Linked DNA regions of Homo sapiens: regions 1, 2 and 3 are each linked to region 4. The links are contacts of gene promoters, found by promoter capture Hi-C in blood cells and fetal thymus (Javierre and others, 2016). All regions are on one chromosome and are shown on one strand. The core of a region is centred on a gene start or on the middle of the fragment in contact, and the rest is flanking DNA. Distances in the headings are between cores, read along the strand shown.

Region 1 (3,407 bases), core at 146-2,645, 680 kb after region 4:
ATACTAGCTTTAAAAAAAATGGACAGCTTTCCCTCTTTTTCTGTGGTACTGAATGGTCATCAATAGAGAATGGCTGAATTAAGGTGAGATCTAGTTTAAATCTAAATGTCCATCAAACTAGAAATGGTTGAATAGATTGCTATCTACTATGGAATATTATGCAAATATTAAAGAGAATGAGAATTAGTTGCATAGACATCTGTTGACCTGCAGATGGCTGGAATGTGTTGATGAGAGAGGAAAATAAGTTTCAAATAACTTTTTATAGTATGATCCCAATTTCTATGGAAATAAGTCATGAAAAAGATCTCCCTGAATATATATATATATATATATATATATAGAGAGAGAGAGAGAGAGAGAGAGAGAGAGAGAGAGTGTGTGTATGACTAAATGAGAATAGAAACATGTTAACAGGTGTTAACACAGTTTGCTGGGGGCAAAGGGCACACAAGCAGAGGAGATGGCATGAGGGAAGATAAGGGGAAAAAAGATTTAATCAAAACTGAAAAATATACATATAGGTGAAATATAGAATAACAATTCTATTAGAGGTAATAGCGCATTGACCATATACACATATTTTCTCCCTCTCTCCAAACAATATAACAATTATAGGAAAGAACATTTTTTTTTGTAAATTCTCAAACTCAAAGAGCCAAACTCAGTGGACAAAAGATGTGAACAAAATTTTAAAAGTCCTTTCCAACTTGGCCCCAGCAGCATAGCTCCTGTAAAGAAGAGTGTTGGCTGGGCGCAGTGGCTCATGCGTGTAATCCCAGCACTTTTGGGAGGCTGAGGTAGGTGGATCACCTGAAGTCAGGAGTTTAAGACCAGCCTGGCCAAGAGATGGTGAAACCCTGTCTCTACTAAAAATACAAAAATTAGCTGGGTGTGGTGGCATGTGCCTGTAGTCCCAGCTATTTGAGAGGCTGAGGTGGGAGAATTGCTTGAACCTGGGAGGCAGAGGCTTCAGTGAGCCAAGACTGTGCCACTGTACTCTATCCTGGGCGACAGAGCGAGACTCTGTCTAAATAAAATAAAATAAAATAAAATAAAGTAAGATAAAATAAAATAAAAGGGCTATTCTGTCACCTGCCACCAATGAGGTGGTGACACCAGAATATGCCATCAGCATCCACAAGCACACCCATGGAGGGGACGTCAAGCAGTGTGCCCCTTGGTCACTCAAAAAGTCCCAGAACTTTGCCATGAAGGAGATGGGGACTCCAGATATGCTAACACCAGGCTCAACAAAGCTGTCTGGACCAAAGGAATAAGGAACGTTCCATACTGTGTCCATGTGCAGCTGTCCAGAAAGCATGAGGATGAAGATTCACCAAGCAAGCTCTATACTTTGGTTACCTGTGTACCCATTACCACTTTCAGAAACTGACAGTCAGACATTGTGGATGAGAACAAACTGTTGATGTCAAATAAAATTATAAAACCTCAAAAATGAACAAATGAATGAATAAATAAATAACTGTCCAAGTGGCAGCAGAGTAGGCAGCTGGCTTGTGCTGAGTGGAGGAACTTCTGTCTGAATGCTACAAAAGGGAGTTATTGATAAGGAGGCCAGGGGCCCCTCAGAACCTTATAACGTTCAGGGCTTAGGGGCAGGGAGAATTAAGTGAAGGTCTACATATGGAGTGTTGGGAACCTTATCCTCTCTTTCCGTGCTCTGATCTCAGAATGCTGGCAGCCAGGCCCAAAAAAAACACCTCCAGATTTCAGCATTTGGAGGTCACCCAATAGGCCAGGTTCACGATTAGCTTGACCTCCTATACAGTGAAGTCCAATGTTCAATAAACCTTAACTACACAGAGCATTTAATCAGCTTTTAGGACTTCATTCTTAAAATATTCTCAGACAGCCAAGGAGTACCAGATATTTGAGATAGGTTTTCTGTATGAAAAATAGATCAAAACAATTAAAAAATGCTCCTGGAAGGAAAAAAAAAACAATGCTGTTAACACAATTAAACCAAACAAGTAAAATTATTATAGCCCCGAAGAGATACAACACTGCATCTGTAAGACAGGGGCAGGACACCATGGACAAATGAGCAGGCAGAGAATGAAAACTGAACCTTGAAACTCAATAGAAGTTCTACTAAATAAAAATTCAATAGAAGGGTTAGTCTATGAAATTGAGGACATTTCTCTGAAAGCACAAATAGAATAGGAAAAAATATATGATCATTAGAGATTCAATTTAGGAAACAAAATATGATTGACTAGATTTCTAGAAGGAGATTAACAAAAAAACAGAAGGAAGAAGTTATTTTTTAAAAAAGGAAAGAAAGAAAATATTCTGGAAGAGAAGGACACATATTCCCCGAGAGTGTGGAAAAACTCAAGCTGTATTTTTCCTCTGCCCTCACATCACCACAACAATCAACAGAAGTCACAGAAGACTTCTGTGACTACATATTGGCGGGGGGTGGTTTCTTCCCACCACCAAGCAAGCAATCAATTCGGCAGCAGACACCAGCTGGGTATCCTCCAATTTAATTCTGACACTATTTGGAGATAGCATCAGATCCCACAGGTTGAGTGCTCAGTCCCCAAGACCGCCCACCCCCTAGACACCAGTGGTAAGTCTGGGCCTCCAGAACTTCTAAGACCAACCGGGTTCAACGTGAGATTCTCATGCTCCTCTCTTTCAGTTCAATTAATTTGCTAAAGCTGCTCAGAGAACTCAGGGAAACACATTTCCCAGTTTATTTTAAGGATATCACAAATAATACAGAAGAAAAGGTGAGGTATAGGAGAAGGAGTACAAAGCTTCCATGCCCTCCTCAGGTGTGCCACCCTCCAGGAACCTCCACATGTTCCACTACCTGGAAGCTCTCTGAACCCCGTTTTTATGGAGGCTTCATGTGAGCATGACTGATTAAACCACTGGCCATTGCAACTTCAGGGGGCCTTCAGTTCCCTCTCCCCTTCCCAGATGTGATGGGTAAAGGGGTGGGGCTAAACGTCCCAGCCCTCTAATCCTAACTTGCTTCCCGGGACCAGCCCCCATCCTGAAGCTGCCTAGAGGCTGCCAGCCACCAATGAATCATTAGTATATAAAAGATACAATTTTGGAGATTCTAAGGATTTTAGGAGTTCTATGCCAGAAAAAGGGGTTGAAGACTAAATACATATTTCACAGTATCACGTTGCCAAATTAAAAAGGTTACTAAATGGCCTGCACAAAAACAACAACGAAGACCCAGACCAAGGCCCCAAATCTTGAAACTGTTGTAATATCAGGAATAAAAAGAAGATCCTAAAAGTTTCCAGAGAGAAAAAAATAAGTGTCATATAAACCAATAAGACACATAATAACATTGACTTTTTTTTTTTTGAGACAGAGTCTCGCTCTGTCACCCAGGCTGGAGTGCAGTGGTGCGATCT
Region 2 (3,577 bases), core at 117-2,616, 530 kb after region 4:
CCTCCCAAAGTGCTGGGATTACAGATTTGAGCCACTCCTCCCAGCCATCAAAAGAATATTCTAAATATGGTGGACCAAGCACAACATCTGAAGGTTCTATTTTGACCTCCAGGTAGGTGTGCATGAGGGATCCTTTTGGGATACTGACAGTGTTCTATAATAAACTCTAGAAGTGATATCCCTGAAAGTATGGTCTTACTGGTAATGTTCTAAAATGTATTAAGGTAATGGCTGTGCAGTTTGGTAAATTGACTAAAATTATTGAATTGTACACTTGAAAGGGATGAATTATATATATAAAATATGCCTCAGCCAGGCGCGGTGGCTCATGCCTATAATCCCAGCACTTTGGGAGGCCGAGGCAGGCGGATCACAAGGTCAGGAGTTCGAGACCAGCCTGACCAAAATGGTGAAACCCCATCTCTACTAAAAATACAAAAATTAGCCGGGTGTGGTGGTGCGTGCCTGTAGTCCCAGCTACTCGGGAGGCTGAGGCAGGAGAATTGCTTGAACCTGGGAGGCGGAGGTTGCAGTGAGCCAAGATCGCGCCACTGCACTCCAGCCTGGGCGACAGAGCGAGACTCCATCTCAAAAAAAAAAAAAAATGCCTCAATAAAGTTGAAAAAAATTTGTCCTGCAGGCTGTAGTTTGTAGTCGAAGGCCTAGAATATTATTCCTAAGGCCTTTCTCCCTTCCTGATTGTGGTTTTGTAGAGGCACCAACCCTGCTGATAGTGAGAACTGACAACATCAGCTTATAAGTGAGGGAGTGTGGCCCAGTGGTTCATACATGGGCCATGGAGTCACCTGAGTTCAATTCTGCTTTCCTCAACGACTAGCCATGTGACCTTGAACAAGTGATGTCCCCAGACTAGTCAGCTTTTCAGGACTCAGTTTTCTCATCTCTACAATGACAATGGTTATAATATCTGGAAGATTAAATGATGCCACACATGTAAAGCATCTGGCACAATGTAAGTCCTCAAGTAGTATTTCTCATTAGGAACTCTTGCCACTAAGCCCAGTGACCCGTTTAGTACCTGAACTAAATGAGGTGGAGCTTGCAGTGAGCCGAGGTCGCGCCACTGCACTCCAGTCTGGGCGACAGAGCTAGACTCTGTCTCAAAAAAAAAAAAGATTTTAAAAAGGTGGTGAATTCAAGTTGTGTCTTCAGAAGTTCAGATTTGGGCTCATTTTTCTTGGGTAATCTAGGAGGGTCAATTTTGCACTACCGATCTCCACTCCACCCCAACAAATGTTGCTCCTAAAATGGCCGTGGGACCTCCATTACTTTCTCAGCAAAAGTGAATTCTCGGCTGGGCGAGGTAGCCACGCCTGTAATCCCAGCACTTTGGGAGGCCAAGGCGGGTGGATCATCTGAAGGTGGGAGTTCAAGAACAGCCTGACTAACATGGAGAAACCCCGTCTCTACTAAAAGTACAAAATTAGCCCAGCATGGTGATGCATACCTATAATCCCAGCTAGTCAGGAGGCTGAGGCAGGAGAATCACTTGAACCTGGGTGTCAGAGGTTGTGTTGAGCTGAGATCGTGCCATTGCACTCCAGCCTGGGCAACAAGAGCGAAACTCCATCTCAAAAAAAAAAAAAAGAAGAAGAAGTGAATTCTCACGTACTTGTTTCAGACAGGTTTTTTTTTTTGTTGAGACGGAGTCTTGCTCTGTTGCCCAGGCTGGAGTGAAGTGGCGCGATCTCGGCTCACTGCAAGCTCCGCCTCCCGGGTTCACGCCATTCTCCTGCCTCAGCCTCCCAAGTAGCTGGGACTACAGGCGCCTGCCACCACGCCCAGCTAATTTTTTGCACTTTTAGTAGAGATGGGGTTTCACCGTGTTAGCCAGGATGGTCTCGATCTCCTGACCTCGTGATCCGCCCACCTCAGCCTCCCAAAGTGCTGGGATTACAGGTGTGAGCCACCGCGCCCGGCTCAGACAGGTTTTTAAGATACTGCTAATATAGCACTTGGAATGAAGGCACTCTGGCTGTCACTAGGGCGTGGTCAGTGCCCAGGGACTCCTGCCCATAGAGGAATGAAGCCCTACCCAGAGGCACCCTCTGCACGCCTGTGAAACCCCAGCAGGGGCTGCCACATTCCCTGGGTTATGGGTGCGGCAATGTGAACCGGGAATAAAACCTGGGGCCTTTCAGAGTGGCAGAGGAGGCTGAAAAGAGGTGGAGAGAGCCCAGCTGCACTCACGGGCCAACACAGACCCCTGGTCTAAAAGGAGTCCCCCAGAACGGGTCAGGCCAGAAATCCGTTCTAGTCCTCAGTTCCCCATGTTCTCTGTCCTCTGTGTCTCTCGCCAATTGCATAGGCTCCTCTTGTCTTTCTCTCCTTCCCTCCCCTGCCTGCATCTTCTCAACAGATGCCCTGTGCCGTCAATAAGTAGCCACGGGCCCCCCAAGCAAACAGGGGCATTCTCACCAGTATCTGAGTGCTCCCAAAGGGCTGTGGGGTCCGATCAGGTGGGAATGGGGCACAGATGGGGCTCATTCGCCTGGCCTGTTGGTTGAACTTGCCCCCTGGGGTGTGGCCATAGAGTTGTGGTGGGGAACCCCTTTTTCATGTACCCTGAGTAGGGGAAGCTGTGTGGAGAAAGTGGGGGGTAGGACTCTGCTGAGCAGGGCGAGGCCCACGGTTGTCTCATGACATTAGAAACATGAAATGAAACTCAAGGTCCTGAGTCATCCCTGTGACTGAGGCTTTTGGACTGGCTTTTTTTTTTTTTTTTTTTTGAGACGGAGTTTAGCTCTTGTTGACCATGCTAGAGTGCAATGGCGTGATCTCAGCTCATTGCAACCTCTGCCTCCTGGGTTCAAGAGATTTTCCTTCCTCAGCCTTCCTGAGTAGCTGGGATTACAGGCACGCGTCACCACGCCCGGCTAATTTTGTATTTTTAGTAGAGACAGGGTTTCTCCATGTTGGTCAGGCTGGTCTCGAACTCCCAACCTCATGTGATCCGCCCGCCTCGGCCTCCCAAAATGTTGGGATTACAGGCGTGAGCCACCGTGCCCAGCCTCGGACTGGCTTTTACCATTTTGAACAGAAAGTCTGCAGCGTGAACAATGGCTCAGGCTGATGAATGCCTCAGTCTAAGTGATTTAGCTGGTGCTGACCCGCTCCCTCATTGATCTTCCTCATTCCCAATTCCAGCAGCAATTGAAGTCTGCACCACACAATTTAGAACTCAGTTGTATATCACCTGCTGCTGTTCCTGTTGTTTCCTATGAGTTGGTCTTGCCTTTCCAGCAAGAATTACAAGCTCCTTCAGGACTGGGATCAAGTTTGTTTGATACTCCTTTAACCTCCAACGCCACTCAATAAATACCCCTTGATTAGATCAGATAATATCTGCATTGCAGTGAGCCAACTTGGCACAGAGAGGCACTCAATAAATGCTTGCATGAAGGAGTGATTTTTTCTGTTGACAAAGGACAAGACAGATCTTTCTGAAATTTTGCAGGAGGTACTTACATCTAAACTTGGTCTGCTGATTATGACAAATCTCAGCCCCCTCTTCTGAAATCACTTCCCTCAACTAGTGAAATAGGTTGGTATTAGT
Region 3 (3,328 bases), core at 702-3,201, 660 kb after region 4:
TTGGCTTGGCCTCTCTCTGTTCCTCCCTCTGCACCTAGAACTCTTATCCTTCCTGTGGTTTGGTGCCGACTGGGTCGGATCTGGGCTTAGAGTAATAGCTTTGGTGGGTTTCCTGGATGGATGTGAAGTTGGGCCTCCCATGGGCCCAAGGGAGTAGGAAGCCCCATTCCCCACCTGTCCTTCCTCTAGGAAGTGTAGATCAGAAAGTGAGGTGGTGACCTCCCACCTCTGGTCTGGTTAAGAGTCTCACTAGGGCCAAGGCAGGCTGCAGAACTTTCCCTCTTCCTCTCATTGAGGGTGATGACAAGAGACATCCGGGGACTGTGCACTTACAGTCGGTGTGGAATGTCACTCTTGCAGTCTTTGAGGCAGGATAAGTATTTTTACATATTTTAAGGGTGCAGGAGGACAGCAGCTAACAAGGCCAGGAAATACTCACTTCCCTCCACCCTCAACAGGATGTGGTGGGGGTGAAACTTGAAGAATTTTTGTTTCCCCTTCTCCCTTCTTACGTTTGGGAAGTTTTATGTAGTGTAACAAACTCTAGACGAGTTACCAGAAGATGTGGATTCTAGTTCTGATTCTGTCACTCATTGGCTTTGAGTGACATATTTTTATTTCCTGGGCCTGTTTTCTCACATTAAAAAAGTAGAAGTTAGATGAGTGATCTCTAAGGTTGAAGGTAATTTCAGCTCTCACATTCTTTTGAGTTTGTGGCTCTTGAAAGCCCTGGTCCTGATGCTCCCTGTAAAGGTGGCTGGGAGAGAAGCCAGCCAGGCTGCACTTGCAGAACATTCCCTGCTCTGTACTGGGTGTGTGAAGCCCCAGCAGAGAAGGCCGGAGGGAGGGCTTGGGTGCCTGGGCTGGGTGTGGGGCAGGGCCTGGCACAGCTGCAGAGTGCACAGGGAGGGTCAGAAGTGCCAAGTCACTGGCCGTTAACTCAGCACCCAGGCCAAGCCCCCGCCTCCCACTTGAAGCCCCCTCTTACAACTGTTTTGGGGGCTTGGAGCAGAAGACACCCTTGTAGACAGACATAAGAGGGGCAGAAGGCTTGACCAGAGTTCTCTTGAGCCTCCTCATGCTCTCAGAGCAGGGAACAGCGGGGGAAAATGTTTACACTCCATGCACAATCTGTGCTTCCAGTCCCTCACCCTATGTGGCCCAATAGCTGGCTGGATTTCACACTTAATTGGTATTTTTTTCTGCCTTCTTCCCCTGCCCCCACTGACTCCTCTCCTCTCCCTTTGATTGTACTCAAGGTTCTGGGGCCTGGGCCCTGGGTGGGTACCAACAGCTGCTCGCTGTTCCCATGTCCTCTCTCCAGCTTTGCTGTGTTTCTCTGCTACCTAATCTCAGTGACTGTGAAAGGACATTGTGTCTGAGCCATGGCCAGCCGCTGGCTGGCCCCCTGATCTGCCCCCCTTCTATTGTTTGGATGGCCATCTCCTGCTGGGCCTCCCTGACTGTAAAATCTCTGTACTGTTTGTTAGGTTTTTGGTGGGAGGCTGTGATAAGTTCCAATGAGCTGCCACTTCCCTGGATATGTCAAGAAGCTGATGGCAACTTGGCCAATTCTGGCAGATATCAGGCCCCCAGTTCAGCCCCAGTCACCCTCTTTTACACATGTGGGTCAACCACTGTGTGCTCAGAGGGTCAGTCCCTTCCTCTGCTGTGTTTTTCTTGAGTCCTTGCACTCACTTCCCCTGCCCCAGTCACGATGACCCCTAAAGCTTCCTTTGCCCTTGCTTTCTAGGGCATCCCTAGTGAAGGGGCAAACCTGAGATTTCTCCGTGGACCTGACAGCCAAGGCAGGGCACTGTCTCCTGAGGCCAGTGCCAGCACGTGCATGGTTCACAGAAAAGGATCCTGGGCTCAGAATCTCGAGAACCGCCTGCTCCTAACAATTCAGCAAGTCAGGGGCTTCCTCTCTGTTAGTCCCCAAATCCTTACTTATTTTAAAAAGACTAGACCCTCTCTAAAGACTGTTCCATTTTAACATGTCCTGATTCTGCATCCGTGGGTTTTGTGAAAGAGAGCTAGCTGGCGGTTAGAGCCTGGAAGAAGGAGGGAAGTGGCACCTCACTAGCATTTATCACTTTTTTCCTTCTCTTTTTAAAAATAAAACCAGACTCTGTTCTGAAAATAAAAAACTTGAGACTTGTGACAAGCTTCCTGTGTGGTTTGTTTTAAGATCTTTTCTGTCCTGGTTTCCTTACAAAATTCTTAAATGTCACTGTGACATTCGCCATTATTTTATAAGTTTGTGTTAACATTATGGGTACACCTTGGCCCTTCTAGGCAGTTGGCATGTTTTTCAGGGAGGCAGTGAAGCTGTGGCCTGGAGCTGGTGAGTGTCTTGACATGCTTTGTTGGCACAGCCAGCTCAGCTCTAATGGACTCAGCCTGAGAACGATTTTTTCTCATCACCCTCGGCTCTCTCTCACTTTTCTTTCCTTCCTTCTTTCTTTTTCTTTGTTTTTGAGACAGGGTCTCACTCTGTCACCTGGGCTGGAGTGCAGTGGCGCCATCATAGTTCACTGCAGCCTCAACCTCCTGGGCTCAAACAATCCTCCTGCCTCAGCCTCCCAAGTAGCTGGGACTACAGAAGTGTGCCACCACGCCCGGCTTCCCATTTCTTTCTAAAAGAGTAGCTTTCCAAAGGGGGAACATCTTGAGAAACTAATTTTTAAATACTGTGCCCTCCTCTATCACTCTTGCCCCAGCCAGAAGCACAAATTCTTACGTATGAATAAGAAGAACAAGGCCATGGGTTTTTGTTTGGTTTTATTTTAACATGAAGGGTAGTATTAAGTCTAAGCAAGAACACTGGGCCTGCACCAAAATAAACAAACACACAGTGATTTTTTTTTTTTCTTAGCACAGAGGCAGCCAGTATTACACAGCCCCTCTCTGTGTTGTGACCCTAGCTTGCTGCTTCTGGCTGTGCCAAATGCTAAGCAGGCGTTTCACTCAGGGCAGCCCGGGAGGCAAGGTCTGAGAGTGGAAGCTCCTGGGAGCCTGAGCTCTCTCTGCCTCTCGTTAGCTGTGGCTTTGGCCATCAACTGGAACTATGTCATTATTTATAAAACAGGAGCAATCACAGGGCTGTGGTGAGAATCACATGAGGTGACACATGTGAAATGGTCCTTTCCCCTAAGACATATATAATTGTAACAAGGAACAAAATTTACATAGAAAATAATTACAGAACAACGTAGGACCATGTCTTCATTTCTCCCTGGAGCGGATGTAAAATAAGGTGATTGATTTGAGCAAGCATGTTATGAATATTTAGAAATGTCTTCTAGGGAAGCAAGCTGGCGCTCAC
Region 4 (3,275 bases), core at 390-2,889:
ACTGTGGGGGCCAATTGGTACAGGTCCTGCCCTGCATGACAGGGCCAGTGGCCCCCACAGTGCTGAGGATAAAATCCAACTGCTCATCCAGGCTGCTGGAGCCTCCTGCCTTCAGGCCACCCCACTGGCCTCTTGCCCACTGTGCCCCACTGTCCAAGCTCTCGCCTGCCCTGGGAGGGGCCCCTGCAGCTTCTTGTGCCCAGGTGCACGTCCCTCTCTTTTCCCATCTGGGCGCCTGCTGACATTGTACCATGAATTTGAACACCACCCTGCAGATGACCTGGCCTCAGTCCATGAAGTTTCCCTTTCGTCTTCTGCAGGGCACCGGCCCCTAATGCCATCTGACGGTTTCCCTGCTCACAGGATCTTCCATTTGTTAGCCCCCCAGAGTGCCCAGCCCGAGTGAAGAGCATGCAGGAAACAAGCCCCTGTCCTCGTGGAGGCTACATTCCGAGAGGGGAGGTAGGCAACACACACACAAACGACTCCGTGGTATGTCATGCTGCGATGCTGGCTGTGGAGGAAAATGAAGTGAGGCCTGGTGAAAGCCAGAGGCCATGGGGCTGCCGAGGAGGAACAGGGACAGGGTAGGATTTGCTTAGAGCAGGGCAGGTCGCGTGGGACTCTGCGGGCCACTGAAAGGAACTTGGCTTTTATTCAGAGGATGTTAAAGCGTGAGTGACATCCTCTGACCTTTTATAAAAGAGGCAAGAGTCTAGGGAGCCCGGGTAGAAGTGAGGGCGTCTGGAGGAGCCACAGTGGGCTCAGGGAGTGAGCCCACGCGAGGGCGCAGAGCAACTGGACGCTCCAACAGGGCTGGTGGAAGTGCCGAACGGTGTGCATCACCTTGGAAAGCAGGCAGTTTTTAATACCATGAAGCTCGTCCAGCCCTATGATTCGCATTTCCACTCCTAGGTATCACACTCAAGAGAAGTGAAGACGCCCACAAAGGGCTCTGCAGCAGCACTGCCGGTGAGAGCTGCATCCGGGGATGCATGGACTGGCCTGTCATTCCAGCACCTTGGGAGGCCGAGGTGGGAAGCATCGCTGGAGCCCAGGAGTTCGAGACCAGCCTGAGACCTCCAGAGGTGGAGACCCCCCCCCCACCACCTCCACTAAAAACTGAAAAAGAAATTAGTTGGGTGTGGTGTGCGCCTGTAGTCCCAGCATTATCTATATGTTAAACTGATGTTTTAAATCAGAGTTGATATCCAAATAATTAAAGAATAAACAACAAGCACAGGGACTGGTGAGGGGCTGGGCCAGATTCTCTGCAACCCACATGGCTTCACCCACTTTCCAAACCCCTGGTTCCGTGAGGACCTAGAATGACCACCCCAGACTGTTCCAGAAACAGCCTGGGGATTCTGAATGTTTCCCAGAGAATCATTAGGAATTATCCCAGCGGCGCTGGAGTAAGTGGCCAACTTAAAGTTGGACGACACTGTCTGAAACAGTCGCGTAAGGGGTAAGGGTGGAAAGCCTGGTTCTCACTGCGCTGCCGGCTCCCCGCCCCGCTCCACAGCCCCGCGCCGGCGCGGGCTCCCCGGGTCCCCGCAAGCCGCCGGGGGCGGGCCGGGGCGGGCCGGGGCGGGCCCGGGCGTGGGGGGCCGAAGGAGGAAGCGCGCGGGGCGCCATAAGGAGGAAGCGGGTAGTCGACCGTGTCCGCGCGCCTGGGAGACGCTGCCTCGGCCCGGACGCGCCCGCGCCCCCGCGGCTGGAGGGTGGTGAGTGCACCCGCGCCCCTCCCGGGGTACGCGCCGAGCCCCAGCCCGTGACCCCTGCCTGCCGCCTGCCCCGGCGTGGAGCTCAGGGCCCGCCGCCCGCCCTGGGCCCGACCGCGGTGGGAGCCAGAGGAGGGGAGGCGGGGGGTCAGAGCCCCAGGCCTCAGCAGCGACCTGAGGGCCGGGTCTCTCCCGCCTCCCCTCCGCCCGGGCGCCCTCCTCGGCGCGGCCGGCAGGTCGGTGCTGAGGGTCGGGTCCGCCTCGGAGGCGGGGAAGGCTTTGTTGTGTCCTCTCCACGTGGCCTGGGGATTCAGGGGAGGGGTGCGGGGCGCGGGGAGGGGGAGGGGCCGAGGCCAGCCCCGGAGAGGAGAAAACCCGCGGGCCTGGCCGGGTGCAGGCCACCCTTGCCGGCGGATCGGAATCCCCGCCCACACCGTGGTCTTTCCAGCACCGCAGACACCTGCCGGCTCCTCCCGAGCGGAGCTCAGGGCTGACAAAGCGCGGTCAGAGCGGCCGCTTACTGGGGCTCGCCCGCTCCTTAGAGCACTGGCAATGATGTGCGGATCCTCGCTGCTGCTGCTGGGAAACTGTTGAGTGGCTGAATGACCCCAGGGGACCCTGGGAGAGCTCTGAAGCCCTCAGCCACCAAGTGGCTGGGCTGGCAAGGGTTCATTCATTCATTCAACAAATACGAATGTGCAGCGGTGCTGGGGTCATGATGGCTCGGTGGGCAGCGAGGGGCCGGGCCGGCTGGAGGAGCACAGTGCGGATTCTGTAAGTGGGCTGGGGGCTGGGCCTTCTGCGGCTGGACCGGCCTTCACCTGCAGGCAGGGTTGGGGCAGGTGAGGAGCAGATGGACCCACCCAGAGCTCTTCCACCTTCTCAGGCTTGCACCCCCTTCCTGGAGCCTTATCCACACCCTCAGTCCTCGCTCTCACTGTGGGGGAGCTGCAGAGGATGCGGTTTTTCCACATTCCATCTCCACCCACAGGAGGCTTTGAGATGGGGGGAGCTCTCCTGGGCCTGAATGTGTGCCGTCCTGGGGCCCTGCAGTCCCCTGGGAGTGATGACCGAGACCAGATTCCCTGAGCTGGGGTCTTAAGGGTGTGGGGAGCGCAGAGGGATCCTCTGGCATCAGGAGTTGAGGTAGACAGAGCTCCAGGGAGGCACTGCCGGGAGGACGACCCTGGCCAAGCCTCTGCCTGCGGCCCAGGGTGTGCGTCCCTGCCCCTTCTGCCCCTCTTGCCCAGGGAGGGAAGAGGAAATGCGGGGTCAGCAGTTCGTGGCTGGGGTTTAAAGGCAGGGATCTCCCAGGACGGGCACAGGGAGCATGAGGAAGCAGCTCGTGTCTCTGTTCATGAGATGTGAGAGTGGTGACTGAGACGAGGGGTGCAGAGACCTGCCGTGGCTGGGGCGAGGTGCTGTTAGTGCTTCTGAGGAGGTTGGGCAGGATAGACGGTGGCTGTCAGGTGGTCTCAAGGTTGTGCAGGAGCTTGCCAGAGAGGGAAGCGGGGCATGGCCCCAGGGTGGTATGGGGGATTCTAGGGGGAG

What was found. The method cuts DNA at HindIII sites, captures the fragments that hold promoters and counts their contacts. A CHiCAGO score of 5 or more calls a contact.
Region 1: a fragment that was not itself captured here is called in contact with the fragment with the promoter of BID in region 4 in 2 of 17 cell types (neutrophils and monocytes); the score reaches 6.6 in neutrophils.
Region 2: a fragment that was not itself captured here is called in contact with the fragment with the promoter of BID in region 4 in 1 of 17 cell types (monocytes); the score reaches 5.6 in monocytes.
Region 3: a contact is called between a fragment that was not itself captured here and the fragment with the promoter of BID in region 4, in 1 of 17 cell types (neutrophils). The highest score is 5.4, in neutrophils.

Annotation. Positions count from the first base shown.
Region 1 is chr22:17,091,628-17,095,034 of GRCh38, reverse strand. The region is part of intron 1 of IL17RA (interleukin 17 receptor A); the gene reads right to left. It also overlaps the pseudogene RPL31P62. Among named protein-coding and RNA genes, the nearest start is that of IL17RA, 8.3 kb to the right of the region's middle. The HindIII fragment of the contact is 2,792 bases long and covers 1-2,791 here.
Region 2 is chr22:17,242,759-17,246,335 of GRCh38, reverse strand. No RefSeq gene overlaps it. Among named protein-coding and RNA genes, the nearest start is that of CECR3, 22 kb to the left of the region's middle. RefSeq lists enhancers at 2,508-2,767, 2,788-2,847. The HindIII fragment of the contact is 5,307 bases long and covers 1-3,577 here.
Region 3 is chr22:17,115,133-17,118,460 of GRCh38, reverse strand. IL17RA (interleukin 17 receptor A) reads right to left here. Exons shown (of 13, transcript NM_014339.7): 13 at 2,768-3,328. TMEM121B (transmembrane protein 121B) reads left to right here. Exons shown (of 1, transcript NM_031890.4): 1 at 1-2,164. Among named protein-coding and RNA genes, the nearest start is that of TMEM121B, 4.6 kb to the left of the region's middle. The HindIII fragment of the contact is 438 bases long and covers 1,733-2,170 here.
Region 4 is chr22:17,772,833-17,776,107 of GRCh38, reverse strand. BID (BH3 interacting domain death agonist) reads left to right here and starts at 1,639. Exons shown (of 6, transcript NM_001196.4): 1 at 1,639-1,727. RefSeq lists silencers at 1,511-1,610, 1,631-1,680, 1,701-1,770, 1,801-2,130. The HindIII fragment of the contact is 11,451 bases long and covers 1-3,275 here.